2 separate regions of the Homo sapiens genome follow, and region 2 is linked to region 1. Evidence: promoter capture Hi-C in 16 types of primary human blood cells and fetal thymus (Javierre and others, 2016). All regions are on one chromosome and are shown on one strand. Each heading gives the region's core, a stretch centred on a gene start or on the middle of the fragment in contact. The rest is flanking DNA. Distances are from core to core; before and after follow the strand shown.

What was found. Contacts are between HindIII fragments. The CHiCAGO score rates a contact against its expected background, and 5 or more counts as called.
Region 2: a fragment that was not itself captured here is called in contact with the fragment with the promoter of CTNNA1 in region 1 in 7 of 17 cell types (M1 macrophages, megakaryocytes, M2 macrophages and 4 more); the score reaches 8.6 in M1 macrophages.

What each region holds. Positions count from the first base shown.
Region 1 is chr5:138,751,151-138,755,713 of GRCh38, forward strand. It overlaps CTNNA1 (catenin alpha 1), which reads left to right and starts at 2,275. Exons shown (of 18, transcript NM_001903.5): 1 at 2,275-2,360. It overlaps CTNNA1-AS1 (CTNNA1 antisense RNA 1), which reads right to left and starts at 2,774. Exons shown (of 2, transcript NR_134244.1): 1 at 2,373-2,774. RefSeq lists a silencer at 2,165-2,604 and enhancers at 2,308-2,875, 2,876-3,442. The HindIII fragment of the contact is 6,352 bases long and covers 1-4,563 here.
Region 2 is chr5:138,581,949-138,586,511 of GRCh38, forward strand. LOC105379193 (a long non-coding RNA gene) reads left to right here. Exons shown (of 3, transcript XR_001742900.1): 2 at 1,880-1,982; 3 at 2,847-3,141. Among named protein-coding and RNA genes, the nearest start is that of HSPA9, 8.8 kb to the left of the region's middle. The HindIII fragment of the contact is 9,043 bases long and covers 1-4,563 here.

The sequences.
Region 1 (4,563 bases), core at 1,025-3,524:
TGAGCCACTGTGCCTGGCCGGTGCTACACTTTAAAACGACTACATTTCATGAGAATTCCCTTAGTACCTGGAGGACAGCACCAAGCCATGAGGGATCCTCCTCTATTACCCAAATGCCTCCCACCAGCCCCACCTCCAACACTGGGGATTACATTTCAATGTGAGATTTGGGCAGGGACAAATATCCAAAATATATGAATTATGTTCTGAGTTAGCCAGGTGAAGTAGAGGGACGCCAAAGCCACTCTAGGCAGAGGAGACTACAGGAGCAAAGACCCTGCAGCCAGAAACAGGACAGGGGTAGTTGGACAAGAATGACCTTGTCAGGGTTTGCCTTTTTCTTTTTCTTTTTGAGACAGAGTCTCACTGTGTTGCCCAGGCTGGAGTGCAGTGGTGCAGTCATGGTTCACTGCAGCCTTGAACTCCCAGGCTCAAGCGATCCTCCCACCTCAGCCTCCCAAGTAGCTGGGACTACAGGTAGGTGCCACTACACCCAGCTATGTTTTTGTATTTTTTTGTAGACAAGGGTTCTATCATTTTGCCCAGGCTGGTCTCCTGAGCTCATGTGATCCACCCATCTTGGCCTCCCAAAGTGCTGGGATTACTTGTGTGAGCCACTGTGCCCATCCTCTTTTTCTTAAAGGTTGTTCTCTCCCCACTTCATGGTCCTATTGCCCTTTGTCAGCATCTGTTAACTAGCACAGGCCCACAGTACTTTGAATTACAGTGGGCACATTCACCCACAGATGTTCACTAGGCACTCCCTAGGGGATGGGCAATGTGCTGGGTGCTGCAGGAGATACAGCTCCTGCTTTCCAGAAGTTTATATTCCCTTGGGGGAGAGGGAGATGTGAGGAGTAGAGGGTAAACACGGTAAGGGCAGGTCTCCCTAGCACCCTGCTCTCTATTCAGCACAAGGCCAGCAGTGGACATCGTCGTCTTGCATTATTCAGGTTTATAGGCCAATACTGAAATCTATCTTATTCATCATCCCGTGAGCAGGGGAAACATCATTAGGGTTTTCTATACCAGGATGATAGTGAGCATGTAGTAGTTTTTGTTTTTTTGTGTTGTTTGTTTGCTTTGTAATTTTGTTTTCTTTTGTTTTTGGAGTATTCACTATGAAGATAAGAAAGGGTAAGAATAAAATGCCCCAAATGACCAGAGGAATAGAGATAGAAGTCAGGTCCCTCAAATTTGTTGGAGGAGGGGGACAAGCTGGGAGGGGGGACGTGCTGGGGGCGGGGCGGGAACAAGCCCAAAAAGGGACAGCTGCTGCGGTGCCTCTTTTGTGTTTGTAAATGTCCTCCCCGCAAGGTGGCTCTAGCCTGTAATCCCAGCACTTTGGGAGGCTGAGGAGGATTTCTTGAGCCCATGAGTTTGAGACCAGCCTGGCAACATAGTGAGACTCTGTGTCTGTAGTTCCAGCTACTCCGGAGGCTGAGGTGGGAGGGTCGGTTGTCCAGGGATTTGAGGCTGCAGTGGGCCGTGATCGCGACACTCCACCCCAGCCTGGGCGACAGAGGGAGACCCCGTCTTAAAAAAAAAAAAAAGTCCTTGATCAAGAGGGCTTCGGGTGTTTCCATCTGTGGAGTGAGGGGACGGGTTAGGTGAATTCTAGGGGCGCTTCCACCTCACATTATGAAAGGTCCTGAGAGTCAGATTCTAGTTCCACTGTGTCCCGAAGCTGTGGGGCCTTTCCTTAGCCTCCGCTTCTCCTTCTGTAAAGCCAGGTAGTTGGCCTAGATCACTTTTCCAGAAGACTGTGACTCCGGGACACCTGTGACACTCTTGAGGGGAGCGTGCCCAGTACCCCTGGTCGCGTCTCTGGGATTCCGCCGGGGTGGGGGCCCGCGCGAGGCCGCCCCTGAGCCTCACCTGTGCGCGGAGCGGTGACTCACCTGCCCTCGCGCAGCCCTCTCCGCCCGCGGGCTGTTCCAGGAGTCACCGCTCCTCCTCCCTCTCAGGGGTCACTCCCGGCCTAAGCTCCCACTAGGGGCCGGGGAGGAAGGAATTCTGAGGTGGGCGGCGGGGAGGAAGAGGTCCCTCGGGGGTCCCGGTCCGGCGTTGCCAGACTCTCTTCGCGGTGGGGGCCTTCCCTTTCCCCAAAAGCGGAGGCCGGAACGGCCGGGAGGAGCGGGCGGGGCGGCGGCGGGAGGCGCCGGGAAGAGCGAGTCGGAGGGAGGTGCCAGGAAGGGCGGGCGGGGCCGGGACAGGGGCGGGGGCCGCGGGCGGGGGGCGGGCCGGGGGCGGGGGCGTGGGGCGGCCCATTTCCTCCTCCTAGCCGGACTGGAGGGAGACAAAGCAGCGCCCGTCTGCTTCGGGCCTCTGGAATTTAGCGCTCGCCCAGCTAGCCGCAGGTAACTTCGTACCTCCCTCCTCGCGGGCGCGGTCTCTCGGGCCAGGCCGAGAGGGTCCTTGGGCCGGGCCGTCCCAAGCTGGGCCCCGCGAGCCGCGGGCGGGCGAGCGGGCGGGGCGCGGTTTCTTTGGCGACGTCGCCGGGAATTGGGCCCCGGGCGGGCGTGGGACCCGCGTCGGGCCGGCGGTCCCTTCCCCCGCAGGGCCCGAGTATGGGGCCCGGGCGGGCACGGCCGGCGCTTCCCAGCGCTCGGGAAGTCGGGGGGCCGCCTGGGCTGGGGAGGAGAAACTATAGGCCCAGCGCCGCCGCCGCGTTTCCTCTTGGAAAAGTTTTCTCGCGGTTTCCAAACTTTGTTACCGCGGCCTCGGCGCGCGCGGCAGCCCCGCGCCGGGCCCCTCGGCCGCCTTCCTTCCCTGGGGCGGCTTGTCTGGGAGCCGCTTTCCCGGGAAGTGATTGTCGTCCGGCTCCGAGGCGTTCCTGCCCCCTCCCCCTTCCCGGCCGCTGAGACTTCCCGATGGGGCGGCGGGGACGCGGGCTCGGCGAACCGGGAGGCTGGAGCCCGGGCTTCTCCCATACAGCTTCGCCGTAGGTGGGCCACACCCGTGTGGACTTTTGGCGTGACCGTCCACTTGGACTCGGGGATTACTCAGCTTTCCTGGGTTTCTTGTCGGTTGGACGCACTTAGCTTTCAGCCCTAGTTTTCAGGAGTGGCATTAGAGAGGTTTTTTTTTTTTTTTAATTGTTGTTGACTTTTAAAGGAGCGTGTGTGTGCGTGCGAGTGTGAAGCACTTGTTGGAAAAAATGTTGCCTGAATGAATGCCTGACCTTTGCTTGGCAGCAGTGGCTTCCCAGTAATGCAGGCGGCGGTTGGCCCAGTTCCAAGGTTGACTCCCTCTTACGTCCTCTTGCATCTTGGTGACATTTTTTTGGTGCGTGTGTTTTGTACAGAATTTACAATTATTTGGAAAAGAGCGAGATATGTCAAGTCTACGACTAAATTCGGGGCATTTTATATTTATGATGAAGGAAATGCTTACATCATTGTTGGGACAGGATAGGCATTTTGTGGAGCGAATATTTGTGTTTAGTCAGCAGTGATTTTTAAATACTGGACAGGTGGGTGTTACTTTAAGGAACGGAATTTATAAATCGAATTAATTAGGATGTGTTATTTTGTTTTACAGGAAGAATGAAGAATGAGTGTAGGAGTTACCTATAGTTTCTGCCTAATTATTTACCAATCTGGACTTTTGAACAAACATTTTTTTTAAAGACGGGGTCTCCGTCGCCCGGGCTGGAGCGCAGTGACACGATCATGACTCACTGCGGCTTCTGTCTCCTGGGCTCAAGTGATCCCCCCACCTCGGCTTCCGAAGTAGTTGGGACTACAGGCACGCGCCACCACATCCGTCTAATTTTTGTATTTTTGGTAGAGATGGTGTCTCGCTGTCTTGCCCAAGCTGGTCTCGAACTCCTGGGCTCAAGTGGTCCTCCTGCCTCAGCCTCCCAAAGTGTTGTGATTACAGGCCTGAGCCAGGGTGCCTGACCCCATCTGGATATTTATTCAGCGAAAGAATAATTTTTTAATCCACCTAAGAGCTCACAGTGTAATAGGGGAGACACACACCCCAGGTGTAGTACAGAGCGGACTGCAGTAAGTGCCTTAACAGTACTAATGAAACTATTGTCTGAGTCAAATCTTACCTAATAGTAACAACAAAAGAAACTTGTAGAGGCACGGAGAGGGGGCTAATAAGTTTTACTTGGGTAAGTCCAGAAAGGCTTTCAGGAGGTGGTGGCATTTGATCTGGATGAAACATGAGTCGAGTTTTTTTTAAGTGAAGGGAGAAAGTCATGAGAAGCATAAAAGGGCATAGGAGTTTGGGGAATTGTGATATCACTCTCCTGGTTTTCTTTTCCTTTTGACTCATCTCAGTTTCTTTCTTTTCCTCGCCCTCACTCTTTCCTCTCGTACCCAGGGTTCTTTCCAAAGTATCTTTGTCCTCCACACCACTGATGTGGCATCACCTTCACTCCCATCAGTGATATCTCATTTCATATAGTGACTTAGAGATGAGAGGTACCCTCCTCCAAGATGAGAATCACTGCTCTGTGCAGTCTCTTCTGTCATCAGCCTTATGTGCTAAAAGTCCAAGCCTTTGAGTGCAGGTGTGTCTCCTGACCCACATGGTCACCTGTGCATT
Region 2 (4,563 bases), core at 809-3,308, 170 kb before region 1:
TGCCTGCCACCACGCCCGGCTAATTTTTTGTATTTTTAGTAGAGACGGGGTTTCACCATGTTAGCCAGGATGGTCTCTATCTCCTGACCTCGTGATCCACCCGCCTCAGCCTCCCAAAGTGCTGGGATTACAGGCGTGAGCCACTGCGCCCAGCCGGAATTAGTGCCTTTACAAGAGGAAACAGGAAAGATGATCTCCCCTTCCCCATGAAGAGAGCCCACACCAGAACCCACCATGCTGGCACCCTCATCTCAGACTTTCAGCCTCGGGAAGTGTAAGGAAGAACTGTCTATTGTTTAAGCCATCCAGTCTACAATATTTTGTTGTAGCAGCCTGAGCTGACCAAGACAGTTTCTCAGTTTCCCCATTCCTGTTCCTCAACTGTCAAGAGAGGAAATACCCAGGTTTCCTTAGGAGATGAGAGTTTAATGGAAGACTAGTTGGGAAAGTAAAGCCATTGTCTCAATACCCATACAGCCAGAATGCTGGAAGAACAGGGACTTCTTAGTCAGGCTCCATCAGGAGCTGTAGCGGCCAGTTACCTGTTTTCTTCTTAGAAATGGATTTCTGGTGTTCTCATCTGCACTGACTCTGCCTTTTTCTAGCTCAGCCTTTTTATGTTAGCTTCTCTAATTCTTGTGCTGCAATGGTACCCAAACTTCAGTAGCAGTCAGAATTACTAGGTGGTTCTTTAAGCATGCAGAGCACTGGTATCCCACCTCTGGACATTCAGGTCTGAGATGGGTCGTGGAATCTGCATGTTTAATAGAGGGGGATTCTGTCGGTGGGGTGGAGATTAAGGACCACGTCTTTTTAGAAATAGCCCAAACTCTGTGGTGTCTTCTTGTCTCCAAATTTTTTCATTACATGTCCCTATTAGAAAAATATTGGCGCACATCCTCCCATTATGTGTATGTTCATGTATTTATAAACTACATATGTGTATATAGTACTATTATTACAAATACATAAAAATAGAAAACAAAAATGAAAGAGATAAAATAGAAATAGATTTAAATACTTCTTTCCTGTACCCCAAAGTATCCCTGGGGCTGCTTGTACCACCCTTGCTGCCTTCCTCTGTGTGGCTTGATTACATCATCCCATATGGAAAGCCTTGTCGGGCAGAGTAAAGGCCCAGAAAAGTGCCAAGGTGTCACATGGGTCACTGGTTTACCTTACAGGCCCAGCCTTTAGTTTAAGTGCCAATTGCTTGTTTTATTCAACTAGTGGTTGAGGGGTTGGGTGAGAGGGCTTGTGTGTGTGTGTGCCATGACCTGAAGCAAGCCAGTTTACCTGGAAGGATCGCTTTGACGAGTTCTTCAAGGGAAAAGGGGATCTGCTTGCATAAGGGTCTCATGAACACCTCTCTTCCATAAAAAAATGAACTGTTTCTTTTCTTTTTTTTTTTTTTTTTGAGACAAAGTCTTGCTCTGTTGCCCAGGCTGGAGTACAGTGGCACGACCAAGACTCACTGCATCCTCCACCTTCCAGGCTCAAACAATTCTTGTGCCTCAGCCTCCCAAGTAGCTGGGACTACAGGCATGCGTCACCATGCCCAGCTAATTTTTGTGTTTTTAGTAGAGACGGGGTTTCACCATGTTGGCCAGTCTGGTCTCTAACTCCTGAGCTCAGGTGATTCACCCGTCTTGGCCTCCCAAAGTGCTGGGATTACAGGCATGAGCCACTGCACCCTGCCAGAATAAACTGTTTCTAAGCGTGCCAATGGGTAGAAGCCGTGAATGAGGCCATCCTGCCTGTGCTCTGCAACTTTGCATGGCTTCCCAAAGGAAGTCTGCTCTGTCCTAGGTTGTGTTGGGTGTGTGCATTGGTGTACATGTGTATGGTACTGGCCCACTTCTCTCTCATTCCATTACAGCATGAATCCCTGGCCTGAACTGGGGAAGTCACTTTCAGGATTAAAGGCAGCCAACAGAACATCAGCACCCAGAGCCCTGGAGAACAGCATCTGTGTTTGAGTGGTAAAGTGTCAACAGGCCGCTTAAGGAGGAGTGGTAACTGAGTCCCTGAACCCAAATACAATTCTTCCCTGGGGTCTGTCTGTGCATCTATCTGCTCTCGAGTATAGTCCCAGTTGCCAAAGACGTTTCACTTTTTCTGGTGTGTAATCTGTGGTTCATTGATATTGTCCTCTTGTTCTAGGACACCATTTTGTGAGTGGAGTATCATTTTCACGAGTTAGAGTGACCACACTGGCACTAGAGCTCAAAGTCAGAACTGGGAGAATCCCAGACACATTTCAGAAATCAAGTTACTAAGTAAATAGCAAAGAGCAATCTCCCTAAAAGGTTTATTTAGTTATCAAATACGGAAGGGGGTTTCCTACCTTCTTTTTTTCGAGTACTTTTCCTCCTGCTACGTAAAGACATTTACATTTTCAGCTTTCTTCGGTGGACCTAGGTATCTGAGTGCTGGTGTTCTTTGAGAGTACTCAAAGGCCAGAGAGAGTAGAATGTTCTTTGGAGAGCTCTGCAGAGGAGGGAGGCGTGGGGTGCTTCTCAGATTCAGGGCAGTCAGCAGCCATGTGTATATATCTATTTCCTTATTGGTAGGGAAATTTGAAAATAGATTATTTAGGGTTTTATTGTTTTTCATTTAGCTTTATACCATTGAAAATCTCTAGGACTGAAACATCATTTTTTTCTATCATTTTGTGTTCTGCTTATTTTGTTTACTATTGTCTAAAGATTTCTGCATGTCAACCTGGTCCCATATACTTGTCATTTTTAATGGCTAGCTATATAATCTTATTCCATAAGCTACATAAGTTTATTCCACTGAATGCTCTGTTCTTCCAAGTTTTTATTTATTTTTTATTTTTTCAGGGTATAGGGAGAGAGAGGCTGCATTTCTAAAATATCTCTGAGAACAAGCTGCTTTTCAGAATTCAAATCAACATGTGATCTTCTTCACTTTAGGGGTATATGCAGGAAGCCATTAGACACAACCAGGTATTGAATTGTCTTCCCTGAAGTCCGTGTCTGTGGGTCTGGCTGGGCCACTTGATGAGAAATCTCAGCAAGAGGTCTCAGACACCAAACTGGGGAAAAAATTAAACTGACAGAGTGCTTGATATTTCCAAGAAGTCACTTAGGTTCTGTGTATTACCGCAGCATTCAAAAGGGGGACATAGTTCAGTGCTGTGATTAAAGTGACTTTTGCCGTTAGCCTCTTTGTTCATGTAAGATATAATGGTGGGTTATAGCCATTTCATCATTTGGGGGTGTAATGGTTAGCTAAAGCTATTTTTCTCCAAAGGGCCAGTTATTTCTGCAGTTTTTCTCTAAAACTTCAGCTTTAGTGGGTAGGAGCCATAAATTCTGTGACATAGCTGCCTTCTTATCTGTCTTGGGAGTTATAGATTACAGATATAAGACAATTCATGTACCTCTGCATAATGAGGTGAGTTTTATAAATCATAAATCTTCACTTAACATGCAGGTGGTGTTGGGTGCCAGGTTTAGAAAAACTGATGTAGTTGCCAAGTTCATGAATGTCATAAATCATTCATGCTAAGGTAGCCCAGAATCATGCTGTCCTCTGAGGCAGACCAATTTCAAGGTTGTTGTTAAACACAAAAATGTGAGTCTCAGTGATTTTTTTTCAAAATGAACTGCACTTTTTTTGAAGATTAAAACCAAATTACCTTTCTTTTTTAAGTTGAAGTCAGTTTCCTAAGACCCTCCCTTCACCCTCAAAGAATCTATCAGTAATAATATCTTTCCTTCCCTGATCCCTGAATTCTATCAGAAACACATCACAAAATACATAACCTGTACATTTGCAATCCAGATCTTTAATGTGCTGAAAATGAGATTCAGACGTTTCAATAAATCTTGAGGCACATTTTTCGGAAAAAAACCCCTGGAGTTTTGGGGGTTATTTTCTTCTTGTTCCATATTTTACATGAAGTTGCCACAGATTAAAGATATGCTGATCTTAGTAAGCAAGGGTAGCTCTCTTCCACACTGCCTCTTTGGGGCAAAGACAGGGAAAGAGTAGGGTCTAAAGAGTTGTGATCCCAGCCAGGTGTGGTGGCTCACGCCTGTAATCCCATCACTTTGGGAGGCCAAGGCGGGCAGATCATGAGGTCAGGAGATCGAGACTATCCTGGCCAACATGGTGAAACCCCATCTCTACTAAAAATACAAAAACTAGCTGGGTGTGATGGTGCGTGCCTGTAATCCCAGCTACTTGGGAGGCTGAGGCATGAGAACCACTTGAACCCGGGAGGTGGAGTTTGTAGTGAGCCGAGATCTTGCCACTGCACTCCAGCCTGGTGACGGAGCGAGACTCAGTCTCAAAAAAATAAAAAATGAAAATAAAAAAAAGAGATGTGATCCCAGGCTGGGTGCGGTGGCTCACACCTGTAATCCCAGCACTTTGGGAAGCTGAGGCCAGAGGATGGCTTGAGCTCAGGAGTTTGAGTTGAAACCCTGTCTCTACAAAAAATACAAAAATTAGCTGGGTGTGGTGGTGCACACCTGTGGTCCCAGCTACTTGGAAGTGTGGGGTGGAAGGATTGGTTGAGCCCAGGAGGTT